Linked DNA regions of Homo sapiens: regions 1 and 3 are each linked to region 2. The links are contacts of gene promoters, found by promoter capture Hi-C in human tissues and cell types (Jung and others, 2019). All regions are on one chromosome and are shown on one strand. Each heading gives the region's core, a stretch centred on a gene start or on the middle of the fragment in contact. The rest is flanking DNA. Distances are from core to core; before and after follow the strand shown. Region 1 overlaps MSH3 (mutS homolog 3). Region 2 holds the start of RASGRF2 (Ras protein specific guanine nucleotide releasing factor 2). Region 3 overlaps MSH3 (mutS homolog 3).

Evidence for each region. The method cuts DNA at HindIII sites, captures the fragments that hold promoters and counts their contacts. A contact is called where the count stands out against the background at its distance.
Region 1: a fragment that was not itself captured here is called in contact with the fragment with the promoter of RASGRF2 in region 2 in 1 of the 25 tissues and cell types used here (hippocampus).
Region 3: a fragment that was not itself captured here is called in contact with the fragment with the promoter of RASGRF2 in region 2 in 2 of the 25 tissues and cell types used here (hippocampus and mesenchymal stem cells).

Annotation. Positions count from the first base shown.
Region 1 is chr5:80,663,414-80,666,884 of GRCh38, forward strand. MSH3 (mutS homolog 3) reads left to right here. Exons shown (of 24, transcript NM_002439.5): 3 at 1,730-1,950. Among named protein-coding and RNA genes, the nearest start is that of DHFR, 10 kb to the left of the region's middle. The HindIII fragment of the contact is 3,007 bases long and covers 48-3,054 here.
Region 2 is chr5:80,958,956-80,962,250 of GRCh38, forward strand. RASGRF2 (Ras protein specific guanine nucleotide releasing factor 2) reads left to right here and starts at 1,408. Exons shown (of 27, transcript NM_006909.3): 1 at 1,408-2,071. The coding sequence starts at 1,784. RASGRF2-AS1 (RASGRF2 antisense RNA 1) reads right to left here and starts at 1,952. Exons shown (of 4, transcript NR_105015.1): 1 at 1,826-1,952. RefSeq lists an enhancer at 1,511-2,232. The HindIII fragment of the contact is 17,436 bases long and covers 1-3,295 here.
Region 3 is chr5:80,685,719-80,688,873 of GRCh38, forward strand. All of the region lies in intron 8 of MSH3 (mutS homolog 3), which reads left to right. Among named protein-coding and RNA genes, the nearest start is that of DHFR, 32 kb to the left of the region's middle. The HindIII fragment of the contact is 8,779 bases long and covers 1-3,155 here.

The DNA.
Region 1 (3,471 bases), core at 301-2,800, 300 kb before region 2:
TCCCCTGGCCTCTCTACTCCATTTCAATTGAGTATGACAAGAATGACCCAATTTATATGATCAACTTTCACAATACTTTTTTTTTTTTTCCCAGCAAATACAACTCCAAGATCTTCATCCCACTTTCATTCCAGGCAGTTTTTTTTTATGTCTATAGGAGGGAAACTCTTTGTATAACATACACACTTATAGTATATTTTTGAAGAGCGATACAAATATACATTTCAAAAAAGAGAGTAATAGTAAACAAGGTGAATATACATTTGAGAAAAGAGTCAAATTTAAATTTTTGTGGCTAGAAAATTCACAGGAGATCTAATGAAAGCCTGTGAAGAGGTTTAAATATAAATAGGGAAAATTTTAAACTATTTTTTTTGAAGCAACAAAAGCAGAGATTTATTGGAAACAAAAAGTACACTCCACAGGGTGGGAGTGGGCCCTAGCAAGCAGCTTGGGAGCAATTTTAAACTTTTAGAAATGAACAAAACACAACTCTTGCCCTCAGAGTGTTTTTGCTTTAATAGGGAAGGTAAGAGGTGATAAATGTGTGCAGTCCCAGTTCCTTTACATTTAATAGCACCAACCTAATAGTAGTGCTCTAAACGGTGAAATACTGTGTTCTAGTACATGGTAGGGATCCAGAAAATGATAGTTTCCCTTCTTTTATGGATTGCTTGTTTATGAAAAACTGCCAATTGGCAGACTGTGATGAGTGCCACAGGGAGATGTGATCTTGTTAGAGGAACACAGAGAAAGAAAAGATGATTTTAAGCTGTGAAAATTAGCAGAAGGTTTTATGGGAAAGGTAGATTTGAGATGGGTCTTGAAGAATGAATACAATTTTGACATGCAGAAAGCATATCATGGGCAAAGTGATGGTGTTTCTGAGTATGGTGATTTGGTTTTCTTGGTAAACCCCTGATGTCAATATCAAGTCTTTCCGCTTGAGCTAGTAAGATTTCCCAGTCAAGAGTCCTCCCAGCTTCTGCCTGGAGGGGAGTAGGAGTGCTCTGGCTTCCTGGGTTCTGGAGAGGCCGTGGATCTCAGCATACATTGTGTCTGTGTTCCTAATCGTCCTTCTGGGTTAGGTACAGTACTCCATCAACTGTGCTTGTTTTGCCTTTCCAGGGAAGAAATCTCCAGTTGGCTGCTGATGTGGAGGAAGGACAGTTGTCTTTGAGCTTGGAGTATGGTAGGGGTTTAGGGAACAAATTGCTTTGAACCAATCCTCTTTATTTTAGAACCTCCCTTTATTCCTTTCCAGAGCTACTGGTACTCTAATTCCTGAGTCTTTTGAGCATTTTGTGTTGTAATTAGAGTTGGCTCTTGGTTTTCCTAATTACTGACTTAGTATTTAGCTCTCAGGTGTGCTGAATTGGTTACTGTTCATTTGTTTTCCTTTCTAGCTTTAGATATCTCATTTGCAGTTGTTACCTCTCCTCTCTGTCCTTATGGGCTTATGTCTTCAAAAAAAAACAAAAACAAAAAAGAAAAAAAACCTCTACTATAGTAATGAGGTTTCAGGAATGAGTGAAATTGCATCTGTGTTTAATATGCCATCTTTACCCTGAACCCAGTGTTTCTTTCTTTTTTTAAAAAAATCACATTATAGTTAGATTCATTGCTTTATTGGGAATCTACCTCTTTAAAAAATTCTATGCTGGTTATGAATTGACATAATGAGACCAAAATTACTATTGTTCTGTTTTCTTCTTATTTGCTGCCTAAGAGCCAAAGAAATGTCTGAGGACCAGGAATGTTTCAAAGTCTCTGGAAAAATTGAAAGAATTCTGCTGCGATTCTGCCCTTCCTCAAAGTAGAGTCCAGACAGAATCTCTGCAGGAGAGATTTGCAGTTCTGCCAAAATGTACTGATTTTGATGATATCAGTCTTCTACACGCAAAGAATGCAGTTTCTTCTGAAGATTCGAAACGTCAAATTAATCAAAAGGTATGTAACTGCTATAGATGAGTATCCAGTTACCTAGAATAGTGGGTTCTGAAGTACTGTCAGGTTCTCTGAGGTCATTCATGGCAATGGTTCCTAAACTTGGATGGTCTTCTGAATCATCTGAGGGAGCTTTTGTGTTTTAGTTTAGTTTTCTTACATCCCTGGAGATTCGATTTACTGTGTTTTGGGAGGGATTAATTGGTTTGTATGGGAACAAAACAAAAGCCTTCCAGGTAATTCTGAGGTATTGCCTGGATCAGGAGCCCTTGACTTGGAGGGATTCTTTATTGAGAATTAATACAAGCACAGTTTCTTACAGTCTTCCTTAGAGTTTCCATGATTACCGTGGAAAATCATGATGGGCAACTTAGATATTTTGAGGTTTCAGTTGAAAGCTTGATAGATAGAAAGTAAATTCAAATGTAAGCCAAATGAACATGGGCTTTTTACTTTATCCACTATTTGTTTTGAGACTTTTAATGGTTTTCATAACTGCAGAATCAGGGAATTTAACTCATGCTCCATCATTGAAATCTGTAATTCAGAATAGTGATTGGTTCGCAACCTTAGCTTTACATTGGAATCACCTGGAGAACTTCAAACAAAAATTGCCATTAAGAACCTTCCCTCAGAATCTTATCTAATTGGTTTTCACTGACAAATGGGCATGGATATTTTTTAAAAGTTTACATTTTATTTTGTATTTTATTTTTATTGATGGAGTCTTGCTCTGTTGTCCAGGCTAGAGTACAGTTGTGCGATTATAGTTCACTGTAGTCTCAAACTTCTGGTCTCAAGCAATCCTCCCACCTTAGCCTGCAGATGAGGTGAGACTAAAGGAAAAGCAGTCATTTTAATCTGTAGCTGTGATTGACAACCATTGAATTAGAGAAATGGTTCTATATATGTATATGTATGTGTGTATGTATATATATGAGTCATTGAAATTCTAATGAAAGCTGTTGGCCTTTTTCTTCAGAAAAATTCTCAAGCCAACAAAATTTTGCCTATAATTTTCAAGATTTCACACCTTTCCCACAAAGCCCAGATCCATGAACTCCTCCCTCAGCCAGGCTAATATTGATTGACTTATCTTAGATCATCAAGAAAAAAAAGGTGTTTTTGTTTTTAGTCTCTTTTAATACTTAGAAGCAGTTCACCTAAGTATAGTGGTTATTAAGCATAGAAGTCATAAAGTTTATCCATTAAAGCTCACTTTATTGATAGGAGCATTTACTCCAAGGTCTCAGAAGAGCGTATACATTATTGCTTTATACATAGAATGACCAACTTGGCATGTCCACATCACAGGAAATTAGAAGTAAGTAGACAGAGGGGGCACGTAGAAGCAGTGCCATTATTACAGGTGATAAGCTGTTTGATGGCATGGATAGACGTGGATGAATGGCAAAAAGCTACTGAGTGAACATAAATGCCCCATGGTCCAGGACCATTAGGGTGGGGTCAGCAATGCCATAACTCTCAATAGGTTTCGAAATATATTCTGATCACTCTGAATTG
Region 2 (3,295 bases), core at 158-2,657:
TTAGTGATAAATGACTGGGGAAAATAAAAAATGTGTATAGCAGAATCAAATATAGGCCCTCCCCGGGGGTTTCACTGGCTTTCTCTCACAGCTGCTGGCTACATTATTTCTTTTCCACTTACATTTTTACAGCATGGGGTTGGGGCGGGGGGGTGGCTCTTGGTTTTCTGGTTGTACCTGTCAGATTTGTTAATCAAATGAATCCAGTCCTACAAACGATGAGCCTGTGACAGCTGGCCTTTGGGGTTGGATTCTGCCCTGGGCAGCAAAGTGTCCCTTATTTGGGTATTTTTTTCCAGGTTGAAAACTCGGCACTTAAAATTTAGCATCTTACCACTGTGAAATAACAGGCATTCCGAAAGAACTTCGGCATCTGATGCCTTTCCGGGAACACTTGGGCCACTCTCCTTAACCTTTACCGGCAGTTTTAAATACTACAATGCAGGTACAAGCAGAAAAGCCAAGGATGCGGGCTATGCAAAGCCACTCTGTGACTCTACCTACTGCCATGGGAACGTACTTATGGATGTGGCATGTGAGTGTGTGTGTATGTGTGAGTGGGTTTGTGAAAGTGTGTGGATTCGTGCGAATACGTGTGTGAGTGCTTTGTGTGTATTTTTGGATGAATTTGTGAATGTACATGTGTGTTCATCTGTGTGTGTGTTTGATTATCTGCTTATGAGTCTGTATGATTGTGAACGTGTGAGTATATGTGTGCTGTTTGTGTGACTGTATGAGTGTAATGTGTGTATGAATGTATGTTTGAATGTGGGTTTGAGTGAATGTGTGGGTTGTGTGTGAATGTGTGTGTAAGTGAGCATATCACTGCGTGCATGTGTGTAGCTCCTTAAGTGTGTATCTGAATGTGGGTTTTATTTTTGTGCGCGGGAACGCACATTGTGGGTGTATTTGTCTATATGCATTTGTGCGTTGTGACTGTGTGTTGAGTGTGAGCGTTGTGAGAATGTGTATTTGTGTGTCATGAGTGTGTGCGCGTGTGTTTTTGTGCATATGTGCGCGCATTGTGTTTGTGTGCATTTGTGAGTGTATTTTTGTGCGTCTGAGTGTGTGCATTGTGGATCTGGGTGAATGTACTGGTCTGCGTGTGTGTGGGTGTGCGTGTGTGTGTGCGCGCGTTGTGCGCGAGTGTGCGAGCGCGTGTGAGCGGGTGTGTGGTGCGGCCGGGCGCCTCCACCTCCCTGATCCGCCCCATCCCGGCGGGCGCCCGAGCAGAGGCAGCGGCCCGGGCCGGGGCGGGCGAGGGAGGGACGCGAGCCGGGGCAAGCGGGCTGCGCCACCGCCGGCGCCGCGCCGACTTTGCCCTTTAAATCGGTCTCCAAGCCGATTACAGCTGAGCTCCCACGTGACGTTTTACCTTCTGTCTCCCGGAGCGCGTTGCCCGAGGACAGTCCTTCCCCGGCTGCCGCCCCAGCCCGCCGCGGGGGCTCGGCTCCCGCAACTTTGGGCGAAGCGGCGGCCGGCTCGGGCGCCCTCGCGGGGCCGCGCTCCACGCGGGCGTTGGGGGCTTGGGGGGCTCCGGGGGCTCGGCCGGGAGGGTGGTGGTTAGGGCGGAGAGCGTGCCTCGGCCCCAGCCCGCGCCCCTGCCACCGCGCGCCGCGGCCTCCCGAAAGCGGGCGGGGTGCCCTGCGCGCGGCGTGGGGAAAGGGGGCGCCCTTCGCCGGCCGGGACCTGAGCGGTCGCGCCCTCGAGGGAGCCAGCTGGGCCATGGCCGCGAGGCAGGGGTGAGACCGGCGGCCACCCGTGAGCCCTCCGCACCCGCACCATGCAGAAGAGCGTGCGCTACAACGAGGGGCACGCCCTGTACCTGGCCTTTCTGGCGCGCAAGGAGGGCACCAAGCGCGGCTTCCTGAGTAAGAAGACGGCCGAGGCGAGCCGCTGGCACGAGAAGTGGTTCGCCCTCTACCAGAATGTGCTCTTCTACTTCGAGGGCGAGCAGAGCTGCCGCCCGGCGGGCATGTACCTCCTGGAGGGCTGCAGCTGCGAACGAACGCCCGCGCCACCCAGGGCCGGCGCCGGGCAGGGAGGCGTCCGAGACGCGCTGGACAAGCAGGTACCGCGCGCCTTCTCTCCGCGGTCTCCCAGCCTTGATCGCCGCACTCCCTTGCCGTCCTAATCCGGGGATCAGGGGTCGGGGGTCGTGAAAGAGTGCGGGGACTATGCTCCGAAATCCCCCCGCGTCACCAGTGGCGGGACATCTCCACGCTCCTTCCGATCTTCATCCAGGGATTCTCCCATCTCCATACCCCTCCACCCCACTGCCAAGTGATCAGTCAGAATAGTGGCCCGACTTGCTTTCATTACCCTGGTAGAGGTCGAGTCGTTTCAGCTTCTCTGCCAACCATCTATTGCTTCTCTAGACCTGGCTCGCCAGATTTTTGTCTGGTGACATGTATTGACACCTGTTGGGTGTAGATTGGCAAGACGGAACTAACTTATTTGGAAAAGTTTGATTTCTGCCATACCCGGCTGGCGCGTGTAGATTTCTTTGCCTGCAGATGTTTGACCACTGGTTGGGCTGGGAACAAGCGGGGCTCCCAAGCCGGACAGACACTTTCTGTTGGTCATTTTCAATCAGTCTTTGTGATTTCGGTCAGTTGGCCTTGCTAACATTTGACCTGCTGGGTGTAATTATGAAGGTAAATGTGTATTCATATTCCTCAGGATTAATATTTGGTAGCCACATTCTTGCTATGTTTAAAAATGTGGGCATTTTTAAAGAACGCTTCTGTACTTTTAAATGAATGCTTTGAAAATGAATGCGACCTTTTAATTCTGGGTCATAATTTTATTAGTTTTGCTGTGTGCTCATGGTCGCGGGGTGGGGGAGAAAAACCCTTTAAGTCTTAGTGATCCCAGCCCCTCATTCCTGCAAACACAAAGTTTGTATGTTTCCAATCACCGTTTGGTTATTAAAGTTAAAGCAGACTAATTTTATGCCCCTAATGTTCTCATTTAGCTTCTCAATCCCCACCTTGATATGAAAAAGGCTGATTGTTTTTGCTGTTGCGTAAAAATATTCGCAGCTGAATTTTCCATGTGAGTTCAGATCAGACAGCATCTACCGCACACCACAGAGGCTGTGGGAGGTGCTAGCAATGGAGTGATCCGTAAGATGCCTACCTAACCCTTTGGGGCTCATAAAACAATGTGTAAAATTAAGAGGAGTTAAAACTAGACCGACCGGAAGTTTGAGTTGTTTTCACTATAAATCATTAACAGACTTAAGTGATTAAACTTGTTATAACACTTATAAATCTGAAAGTTTAAATATGCT
Region 3 (3,155 bases), core at 205-2,704, 270 kb before region 2:
CTAGTTCTTCAAGGTTTATCATTTGGTTATTTATTTGAAATGTTTCCTCTTTTTTCATGTAGGTGCTTTTAGCTATAAACTTCCCTCTTAGTACAGCCGTCACTGTATCACATAGGTTTTGGTATGTGTTTTCATTATCATTTGTTTCAAGAAATTTTTAAATTTCCTTGTTGATCTCTTCATTGACCCACTGGCCATTCAGGAGCATATTGTTTAATTTCCATGTGTTTGTATAGTTTCCAAAATTATTCTTGTTTTCGATTTCTAGTTTTATTTCATTGTGGTCAGAGAAGATTCTTGATATTATTTCAGTTTTTTGAATGTTTTAAGACTTGTTTTGTGACCTAACATATGATCTAATCTCGAGAATGTTTAGATCATTCATGCTATAATGATCAGATCCTCTACATGCTGAGGAAAAGAAAGTGTATTCTGCAACCATTGAATGAAATGTTCTCTAAATATCTATTAGGATCATTTGGTCTGTAGTAAAGATTAAGTCTGACGTTTCTTTATTGATTTTCTGTCTGGAAGATCTGTCCAATGATGAAAGTGGGGTGTTGAAGTATCCAGCTGCTATTTTTTTTCTCTCTCTTTTTTTTGAGACAGAGTCTTGCTCTGTCACCCAGGGGGCAGTGCAGTGGCATGATCTCAGTACACTGCAACCTCTGCCTCCCGGGTTTAAGCGATTCTCGTGCCTCAGCCTCCCGAGTAGCTGGGATTACAGGCGTGCACCACCACGCCTGGCTAATTTTTTTTGTATTTTAGTAGAGACAGGATACGGGGTTTCACCATGTTGTCCAGGCTGGTCTCGAACTCCTGACCTCAAGTGATCCGCCTGCCTCAGGCATGTATATTTACAATTATCGTATCCTTTTGCTGAATTGACCCCTTTGTCATTATATAATGACCTTCTTTGTTTCCATATTTACAACCAGTAAACAATACAGTATTAAATTTGCAAGTACAAAATTTGTTTTGTTTTTGGTGATATCTTCTTGTCTGTTTTAAACACTGGTAAGTAGTTTCTTGTATCTCAGACTAAGTACCCCATTTTTTTCTTATGCTATATACCTAAAGGTAAAAACAGCAGTTTTTGTCAGTTACTGGTTAATAATATTTTATTAATTTTGAAGACATAATATGTTAAAGCTGTGTGAGGAAAGGCAAAAGAATGGCTTGGAATTGTGGAGTGTCTATCTTAAAATATTAGGGTTTTTGGTATTCTTAACTTTAACCACAAGAGGTCTCCAAAGGATTTGATATTTTGTGAATTACTGTTTAATGGTTACTAAAATCTTCACATTTCTTTTTATATCTGAAAGTACAGGTTTATTTACTTTGTATCATATTGTGACTTAGAACAAATATTAGAGATGATAGTAATCTAAAATTATTACTCCTAAATAATGATACACTATCAATTTTTCTTAGATTATTTATTTTTATTTATGTAAAGTATGTTTGTAAGATTTCAGCCTGTGTCTTAGGGAATCAGTCTTACTATCTTGTTACACTTTCTTTTGTTGTAAAAATGTAGAGAAAGAAACAAATGGAAAGCAATAGTCTCGAGCCCTTTATCAATTGCAGTTAAGGTTGCTTTAGCTTAGAAATGTTGTATGTTTATAGAAATGGTTGAGAGGAAAGCTTTAGAAAGCGATAAACAAATAATATTTACTAGTTCTCAAGGAAACTGACTTTTCAGGTGAATCAGGTGAACATCACAAATGACACTCAATTTTGCGTTCAAAGAAATGAGAGCTTCCTGAGCACTGGCATAGCCAAGGAAGGCTGTATGAAGGAGGTGGGGTAGGCTGGTACATTTGCAGAATAGAAGGCTTTGAGTTGGTAATGGGGAGGGGGGAAGGGTATGTTGTGTGTGTATGGAAATGATATGAGGTCTGAGGCACACAGGCTGGAAATATTAGAGAAGTGTGAAGACAGAAGGGAGATTTCTCTGATTAGAGGGAACTTTCATGTTGAGAATTGAGAAAGAAAGGGTGAAGGCCTATGAAATCCAGCAAACTGGTATGGATTCCTGTAGAAGGCAGTAAGGTTTCTGGGAAAAGGAATGGCATGATAGAAGGGAAGAGATGAGTGTACTGCCTAGATGGGACAGTTGAATTTTAAAAATAAATATTTCCCTAAAGGAAAAAGCGGATACAGAGAAAAGAATCAGATCAAGGAGCTTAGAGAATGCCAATAGTTGGGAATAGGAGCAAGAATACAAACAGAAGGGGAGGAATTAAAGAGCTAGGTGGAGAACCAGGACAAGGTAGGGATGTGTAGTTATAATTTGTCACACGTGGTATAACCAATGATGTGAGCTAATTTTTTACATTATTGACTCTGTTATAGTTTACTGAAACTGTATGACATTCAGAAAGATACTTGGTTAAAAACTAGCCTTAGCTCATTGATATCATTTGAAAAAGACATGTGGAAGAATGTCCTGTGGTACCACAGTGACTTTAGCTATCTGACCTTTGAAATAAATGCTTGAACACATAAGTGCTTCCTCAAAGATAGATGTGTATGCTGCAGATTTAAAGAAAACATTGAAATCTTAATGTTGGGGAATAAGAATAACCTCTACTATGTTTACTTTCAGTGTTAGAAATACCTTATTATTATGTCTTTTTGGCCACAGAGAGCCTTACATCATCTGAGGTTTAACCAAAAGTATTATCTAACATGATTCTTTATGCGGAGGCATAGTACCACCTGAATGTCACTTATGGTGACACGTGTTTGAAATTACCATAGTAGCATTTTCATTTTGTGTTCATCTCTTATTAAATTAATTTATATAGTAGAAATCACTTATTACTTTATGTTATTGTACTTTGACTTTCAAGTTTTTAATGGAAAATATTTAGCAGAGTTTTGGTGCCAAAATGAAGTGATAACTGTGAGACTATATAATTATCAGAGGAATTGTTATGCAAATTAGGTATCTGTGTTATGACTGAAGTCCAACTTCTTTCTAATGTCATTTGAATTAAACATTAGTATAAAGGTTTCAATTTTTTTTTTTTTAAAGAATGAGAGTAAAAGAAACAACAGGTCTTACTCATTAATTTGGTTAAGAGGAAGTGCTTCACACATACGAAATGTTATTAAGTGGTCGGTACTTGATGGTACCAATTTCGTGA